Regions from separate parts of the Homo sapiens genome. Here region 1 is linked to region 2. Evidence: promoter capture Hi-C in human tissues and cell types (Jung and others, 2019). All regions are on one chromosome and are shown on one strand. The core of a region is centred on a gene start or on the middle of the fragment in contact, and the rest is flanking DNA. Distances in the headings are between cores, read along the strand shown.

The links. The method cuts DNA at HindIII sites, captures the fragments that hold promoters and counts their contacts. A contact is called where the count stands out against the background at its distance.
Region 1: a fragment that was not itself captured here is called in contact with the fragment with the promoter of TTLL4 in region 2 in 1 of the 25 tissues and cell types used here (aorta).

The regions. Positions count from the first base shown.
Region 1 is chr2:218,424,505-218,428,689 of GRCh38, reverse strand. VIL1 (villin 1) reads right to left here. Exons shown (of 20, transcript NM_007127.3): 4 at 2,879-3,075; 5 at 617-725; 6 at 353-463. Among named protein-coding and RNA genes, the nearest start is that of VIL1, 7.5 kb to the right of the region's middle. RefSeq lists a silencer at 2,684-2,901 and an enhancer at 3,784-4,185. The HindIII fragment of the contact is 4,827 bases long and covers 1-4,185 here.
Region 2 is chr2:218,707,910-218,712,273 of GRCh38, reverse strand. TTLL4 (tubulin tyrosine ligase like 4) reads right to left here and starts at 1,439. Exons shown (of 20, transcript NM_014640.5): 1 at 1,237-1,439. LOC124907983 (a long non-coding RNA gene) reads left to right here and starts at 790. Exons shown (of 2, transcript XR_007088089.1): 1 at 790-1,054; 2 at 2,188-2,672. RefSeq lists silencers at 1,048-1,097, 1,108-1,157 and enhancers at 1,538-1,637, 3,863-3,912. The HindIII fragment of the contact is 14,281 bases long and covers 1-4,364 here.

The DNA of each region.
Region 1 (4,185 bases), core at 1,144-3,643, 280 kb after region 2:
CCAAAAAAAAAATCTCTTTGCACCCAAACATGCCTGCAGTCTCACAGTGCACACACAGCGTCAATGTACTGTGAGTATAAACACACGTATGTCCATGCCCATTTCATTCACCACTGGATCCCTAAGGCTTGGCACAGGCTCTGTCACACTGTAGAGACTCATTCTATCTGAGTGGATTGACCACAAGTACACACACGCAAACTCCAACATGCATGCCTGCACCAAACACATGGAGACTGAGCCACCTTCAAACATGCTGTCCCCAGCAGTCAGCGGGGAGAGGCCTGGGGAAAGGAGCAGGTGGGGGCAGTCTAGGATTCGAGAGGGAGGTGTGGTGCATGGGCAGGTTTACCCTGAGTCTCTCCATACGGGTGCTTTCCGGTCCATTCCACTGGATGATAAGCTTCCCAAGGTCCAGGAGGAAAACATCCCCTCGGTTGAAACTCTTCCAGGACATCTCTACCTAGGGAGCCACAGGGGAGGCACAGACCCCACTCAGAGCTCACCTATCATCCATCATCTTGGCCATCCCTCCCTGCCCCTCACCCCTCCTCAGCCCCTGCCCTCCACCCTGGGCCTCACAGCCCTGGCCGATGCTCCAGTGGGGCCTGCCTACCTCTCCAGCTACCACGTTCCTCTTGCCCTTGACATGCAGCAGCCTCTGGACGTCATAGGAGTTGGTCTCCACGTGCTTCATGCCAGAAGCCACGCCCCCTTTCCGGATCCTGAGAAGAGAGGTGAGCTGACCCAAGGAAGTGGGCTGGGAGGTGTGCCTGGCCCCTGTTCTCCCAGGTCCTGGCTGCCACGCTGGGGTCACGTGAGGGCCAGGGTGGGAGTAGGCGAGGTCAATGAGGTGCTGAGGGCGCAAACTTTAGGGAGTCACTCACTGTCAGGTCCTGAAAGTGCAAGGTCTGCCTGTGGCATGCCCTTGCACGACCCTGACAGTGAGAGCAACCTTAAAGTCTGCACCCTAGATCTTCACTCGTCTTGCCCTAGTCCCTGCCCTGTGGAGAGGCCTGCAAAGATAGGGTCATGATATATTAAGAGTAGGAAATATATTAATAGGCCAGGTGCGGTGACTCACACCTATAATCCCAGCACTTTGGGAGGCCGAGGTGGGCAGATCATTTGAGGTCAGGAGTTCCAGACCAGCCTGGCCAACATGGTGAAGCCCCATCTCTACTAAAAATACAAAAAATTAGCTGGGCATGGTGGCGGGTGCCTGTAATCCCAGCTACTCAGGAGGCTGAGGCAGAAGAATTGCTTGAACCCAGGAGGCGGAGGTTTGCAGTGAGCCGAGATCGCACCATTGCACTCTAGCCTAAGCGACAGAGTGAGACTCCATCTCAAAAAAAAAAAAAAAGGAAATGTATTAATAAATAGGGACAGAATCCTGAGGACAGGGGATCAAAGTGGAAGAAAAGAAAAGAATGGAGAGGTGCCACTCCAGTGCCCATGGCAGTGGACTACTGCCATAGCGTGGGAAGAGAGGAGCAAGACAAAAAAAGAGTGGGAACTGTGGCTAATTAGAGAGCCCTCAGCCTGTCCTACAGGTCAGTAACAACTCAGCTCCAGAGTGTGTGTTTTCCTGGGGAAAGCTAAGCTAGAACTTCAACTTGTATAGAAAAGCCAGCAGTCTGGGCTGGGAGTGGTAGCTCATGCCTGTAATCCCAGGACTTCAGGAGGCTGAGGTGGGAGAATCACTTGAGCCCAGGAGTATGAGACCAGCCTGGGCAACAGAGCAAGACCTTCGTCTCTACAAAATATATATATTAAAAAATTAGTGCTGGCCAGGCATGGTGGCTCACGCCTGTAATCCCAGCACTTTGGGAGGCCAAGGCGGGCAGATCATGAGGTCAGGAGATTGAGACCATCCTGGCTAACACGGTGAAACCCTGTCTCTACTAAAAATACAAAAAAATTAGCCGGACGTGGTGGTGGGCACCTGTAGTCCCAGCTGCTGGGGAGGCTGAGGCAGGAGAATGGCGTGAGCCTGGGAGGCAGAGCTTGCAGTGAGTTGAGATCGCGCCACTGCACTCCAGCCTGGGCGGCAGAACAAGACTCTGTCTCAAAAAAAAAAATTAGCTGGGCATGGTGGCTCGGGCCTGTAGTCCCAGTTACTCAAGAGGCTGAGGTGGGGCCAGACGAAGTGGCTCACGCCTATAATCCCAGCACCTTGGGAGACTGAGGCAGATGGATCACTTGAGGTCAGGAGTTTGAGATCAGCCTGCCCGTGGTGAAACCCTGTCTCTACTAAAAATACAAAAATTAGCCAGGCCTGGTGGTGTGTGCCTGTAATCCCAGCTACTGGGGAGGCTGAGGCATGAGAATCGCTTGAGCCCAGGAGGCGGAGTTTGCAGTGAGCCAAGACTGTGCCACTGTACTCCAGCCTGGGCAACAAAGCAAGACTCCATCTCAAAAAAAAAAAGGAAGAAAAAGAAAAGCTGTCGGTCTTGGTTTTTAGTGTGATAGGCCTGCATTAGAGATGGGGGAGCAGCCATTTGCCCGTTGGCCAGAGTTGGGGGGCTTGATTAGGCACTGAGCTCTCCAGGACATTCAAGTAGGAGCTGATTTACAGAGATTCACGAGAGTTATAGAATTTCAGAACAGCCTCCAGACCAAGGACAGAGCAGTGGCAGAAATAAGAGTTAGGGAGTGGAAAGGTGAGGGACAATCACCAAAAACTCATGAGGGTCCCCCTCGTGCCTCCCCCCACAGCTTCAGGGTCCCTTCCCCGCCCCAGGTCACCTCCCCCTGCTCCAAGTGTTCTTCCCAGGCCTGAACAGGTCTGGGTGTCCCTGCCTCTTCAGCTCAGCCCCAACATCTCTATCCCTACCACTCATCCTCATTCCCCCGGCCTGCAGCCCACCCTCCCTACACAAGGCCTTGCTTGAAGTAGCCTCGGAAGGCCTCGCTCTCGTTGCCCTGGACCTCGCGGTGCTGCACAGCCCGGCCCTTCAGGAAGTCATCCATCTGTGTGGTGTAGATGGCAGCTGCCCCCTGCTCATCCAGGGATGAGTCCTGGCCAATCCAGTAGTGGATGTCATAGGACAGGCTGCTGGCTGTCTTGTGGATCTAGGGAAAAGGTGTCCAGTGTACCCGAGACCCTGGGCTCCCACAGCCCCTCCAGCTCTGTGTGACCTCCCACACACGTGCCGTCCAGGACTATGGGGGAGCGTGGCACAGGGCAAGTGCACTAGGCTGGCGGTTAGGAGCCCTGAGTCATGGCCCAGCTCTACCATTGACTCTCTGAGACATGGCTTCTCCTCTCTGGGCCTCCCTTGCCTCATCTCAGAAATAACTTGCTTGTGCCAGGCACAGTGGCTCACGCCTGTAATCCCAGCACTTTGGGAGGTCGAGGCAAGTGGATCACCTGAGGTCAGGAGTTGAAGACCAGCCTGGCCAACATGGCAAAACCCTGTCTTTACTAAAAATACAAAAATTAGCCAGGTGTGGGGGCAGATGCCTGTAATCCCAGCTACTCAGGAGGCTGAGCCACGAGAATCGCTTGAATCCAGGAGGCAGAGTTTGCAGTGAGCCAAGATTGTGCCATTGCACTCCAGCCTGGGCGACAGAGCGAGACTCTGTCTCAAAAAATAATAATAATAAATACATAAAATAAAATAAAAATTTAAAATGAGTCAATATAAAGAAAAAAATACAAATGTCTTAATAGTACAGGTGGTACCAGGGTATGGTGAAAATCAAGGTGATATGAAGATGACTGCCAGGCTGGGCATGGTGGCTCATGCCTGTAATCCCAGCATTTTGGGAGGCTGAGGCGAGTGGATCACCTGAGGTCAAGAGTTCGAAACCAGCCTGATCAACATGGTGAAACCCCGTTTCTACTAAAAAATACAAAAAAATTAGCTGACTGTGGTGGCACGTGCCTGTAGTCCAAGCTACTCAAGAGGCTGAGGCAGGAGAATCGCTTGAACCCGGGAAGTGGAGGTTGCAGTGAGCCGAGGTCGCTCCACTGCACTCCAGCCTGGGTGACAGAGTGAGACTCCATCCGGAAAAAAATTTTAAAAAAAGAAGATGACTATGGATTGTGGAAATGTGGACTCAAGTTAGGGTGATACGGCAACAACTCAGAAGTTTCCCCAAGACTGTGAATCCACAGAAGTTGACCTCAGCTGGGAGCTCAGTGGATCAAGGGCAGCAAGAGCCTCTGACCTCTGTGAA
Region 2 (4,364 bases), core at 190-2,689:
ATATAGTTCTAACTCAGCAAAACATCCAAGGCCCTTTGTGATCTAACCCCTATTAACTTCACTCTTTCTATTTGTTACTGGATGGCTCCCTCCAAATCTAGCCCAGGTCTGTCAAACTGTTTCCAGTTCTCTTTTCAGGACTTGCTGTCCCTTTCCTAAAGCCACTGTGTATCTGGAATGTCCTCCCACCTCTCTATTCGCAGAAAACACTTGATAATTTTTCAAGGATTGATTCAGTCCAATATAAGTAGCTGCTAACTTTCTGAGCACAAAGTGGGTGGTTTAAATGCAAACAGTGTCTCAGTATTCAGTGCAAGAAACAGAAGGATGGGATGGAACACTGTCCCAAAGGGTCCCCCAAATGCTAAATCAACAGGTGCTGCAGTTAAAGAATAGGTGATTTGTAGTATCTGAGAAAGCAAAGAAGATTTCATCAAGGAAGGATTAAAATATTTCCGAGATCCAGAATGGGAATGTGAAGACCAGGAGGAATGGCAATAATGTCGTTTTCTAAGTAAGTCCGGATTAAGTATTTCCTGTTCTATCACAGCACACACCACAGTATGGCAAATGCTCGTTTACTTGATTAATAATCTCCTAGACTGTAAATTCCGTGAAAACATGCTTGTCCTATTAGCCACTCTATCCCCTCAATCCCTCCCATTGTACCCAGGCTCATTAAATATTTGTCAATGTTTACTAAAAATTGTTTAGTGAATGATTAAATAAAGGAATTGATGAATGAAGAATTAAATTCCACAGGATCTCAGATCCTGTTTGAATCTGTGGAGTTTAGGAACGTATTCTTCTACAGATACTGAGGATGGAGAAGTGAAAAAGCAGATATCCATGTTAAATTCGGCCCTGGAGCCTGCGAGGAGCTTGGGCTCACACCCAGAGGGAATTTAAACCTCAGCGCGGCAGGACAGAGGAAGCTCGGAGGCCATAACTAGGGGATGAGGCAGTGTTCGGGCACCCGGAGGCGAGGCCGACTAAGTTCGCGGGGCGTGGCGGAGAGGAGAAGGGCTCCGAGGAGGCGCGAAGTCCCGGCCGGGTAGGAGGCCGCGGCTCCCTGGCCTCCCGGGGGATGAGAGGTGGCGGGAGGAAGCGGGGCTAGGGTGAGAGTGGCCGGAGGGCTGGGGACCCGCGCGAAAGGACTCAGGTAGAGGGAGGTCGGGAGCGTGGGACCGGCGGAGTGTCTGGGGTCGGCTCCCCTGGCTCCGCAGCCGCACTCACCTAGGGGATCCAGCTTCGCCCCGGCTCGGCACCGGCTCCACGCTACTTCCTCCCTCGGCCTGCTGGGCTACCCGGCAGCCTCAGGCGCCCCTAGCAACCACGCACCGCCACGCGTGACAAGCGCACTCGGCCGCCAGCGCCGCTGCCGCCTGCCACACACCGCGCGCGCCCCCAGCGGACAGACCGAGAGTCTGGAAGAAGAGGGCGGGAGGCAAGCGCGGGGAATCTCGGGGGTTCTGGGGCCTGTAGGGGCGGGTCGTCACCTGACTCGCGCACGCGCAGTCCCTTCAGTGCGGTGGGATCCGGCGAGCGGAATTCTGGGAGATGTAGTCCCGTGGTTAAAGCTCTGAAAGGCTCCATTCGGAGCATCCAGGACTCTCTCTTTCTACTCTAATTCCACCTACTCCCTATGGACTGTTTTCTTTTTTAGAGACAGAATCTCGCTCTGTCGCCCAGGCTGGAGTGCAGCGACGTGATCATAGCTCACTGCGAACTTGAACTCCTGCTCAAGCGATCCGCCCGCCCCCAGCCTTCCGAGTAGCTGGGACTACAGGCACGCCACCATGCTGGGCTATTTTTAAATTTTTTTTCTCAGGACAGGGTCTCACTATGTTACCCAGACTGGTCTTAAACTCTTGGCCTCAAGTGATCCTCCTGCATCAGCCTCCTGGTCGCTGGGATTACAACGGGAGCCCCCACGCCTGGCCTGGACTCTTTGGCCTTGCCTCAATTGAAAATCAAAGGGCCCAGGCTCAGTTGAAGGATTTCTAGAAAAAGCCTTTGAGTTTGACCGCAGGAAAGGGGAGATTGCCCGATTCACTCTGCCTCCCTCTAACCCATCCTTCCCTAACCCCAACCCACCCAGCGGGGCAAAATTAAAACCACCTGCCTGCTTTATGGGCTTCAAGTGTGAACGTTAGGAAATACTGACTCAATTCCTTATCTCGTTAGCTCCCCAGGCAAGCCAGATCGCGCTCCTGCCTCAGATGTCCGTAGACCTGAGAGATTTGGAGATCTAAGAAAGCTGGAAGATGAAAGGATCTTTCCTAGGCAATTGGCTACAGAAATAAAGGGGACAAAGATAAAACTAATCTGATGAAAACAGTCTGGACCAGAGGAAGGATCTCAATAAATAACTTATTTAGTCAACAGTCGTTGATGGATGCTAAAAGTATTAGATAATTTATGGGAGAATTTTACACTGAAGGATGTACACTGAAGATAACCTACATGTACTAATCAATCTTAGATCACGAAACATGGGACAGCTGAGCATTGTTTCTTGATGTGATGCAATTGAACAGAAATATTTATGAAGTATAGCGTATTTTTGTAAAAAAAAAAGTTGAGTGACTCTAATCAAGTTTTGGCTGTAATTTCCAGTTAACAAGAAATAAAGAGAAACAACTGTATAACACTACAAGAAAGCAATCAAACAAATCCAGAATGTGAGCCAATGTACAGAATAAATGACCTCTTCTTCCTTCAACAATTTTAGGGTATAAAAATGAGGAGAGATGTTTTAGATTATAAGAGATTTAAGAAATATATTCAAATGTTGGCCAGGTACAGTGGCTCACACTTGTAATCCCAACACTCTGAGGATCACTTGAGGTCAGGAGTTCAAGACCAGCCTGGGCAACATGGTGAAACCCCGTCTCCAACAAAAAATACAAAAATTAGCCAGGCATGGTGGTGCACACCTGTAGCCCCCAGCTACTCAGGAGGCTGAGACAGGAGAATCGCTTGAACCCAGGAGACAGAAGTTGCAGTGAGCCAAGATTGTGCCACTGCATTCCACCCTGGGCAACAGAGCAAGACTCCCTCTTGAGAAAAAAAAAAGAAATATATTCAAATGCAATGAGTGCAGCTTGTTTGGATCCTGATTCAAACAAACTGTAAAATGACATTTTTGAGACTGAGAAATAAAAATTTTAAGTACCACCCCAACCAACTTAATGGACCCCATCGTGGCTAAGGGGACACTAGAGCAACCTTAAAAACTGAGTTCCCGGCCGGGCGCAGTGGCTTACGCCTGTAATCCCAGCACTTTGAGAGGCCAAGGCGGGCGGATCACGAGGTCAGGAGATCGAGACCATCCTGGCTAACACGGTGAAACCCCACCTGTACTAAAAATACAAAAAATTAGCTAGGCGTGGTGACGGGCGCCTGTAGTCCCAGCTACTAGGGAGGCTGAGGCAGGAGAATGGCGTGAACCCGGGAGGCAGAGCTTGCAGTGAGCCAAGATCGCACCACTGCACTCCAGCCTGGGCAACAAAGCAAGACTCTTTGAAAAAAAAAAAAAAGAAAGAAAAAAAAAACTGAATTCCTGGCTATGATGAGATGGGAAGTCCAACACACCTCAATATGCCCCTTCCTTATTAACCTTTAAACAGAATTCTTTCCTAAGGAGTAAGCAGAAACCAGCTCTAGAAATCAAGAAAGGGATGATTAATCCTTCATTGGTTTTAGAGGCCAGAACCAGACTCCCTACTCTTTGCACTTTCCTTTTCTTTTCTTTTCTTTTTTTTTTTTTTTTTTTTTGAGAAGGGATCTCACTATGTCACATAGGCTGGAGTGCAGTGGCATGAACACAGCTCACTGCAGCCTCAAACTCCTGGGCTGAAGCAGTCCTCCACTTGAGCCTCCCAAGTAGCTGAGACCACAGGCACAAACCACCACACCTGGCTAATTTCTAAATTTTTTGTAGAGACAAGGTCTTGCTATGTTGCCCAGACTGACTTCGCAGTTTCAAAATGACAGTTCATCAGTTTCACTATGCATCTCTTCCTAAAACTGACCATCATCTCCAGATGGGTTTTGGAGAGGATGCACAATGAGGGTTTTCATTTCCTGCGCTTTACCTTTTGACATCAGAGGGCTGAAAACTCCACCCTAGGATCATGCGAATGCAGCCGTTTTTTGCATATGCAACCCATGAAGAGGCATGAAGCTCAATTGTGCATGCACTTGTTTCTTTCATTATCATGACTCCTCCTATAGCTTATTAAATATGTGTATTTAGCCACCCCACTCTGTGTAAATTCCTGTTCCCTTTATCCCTCCCTCAAAGTACTTGCTTTCAGCTTCTGCCAGAAACTACACTTCCCAGCCTGTCAGAATGGCCA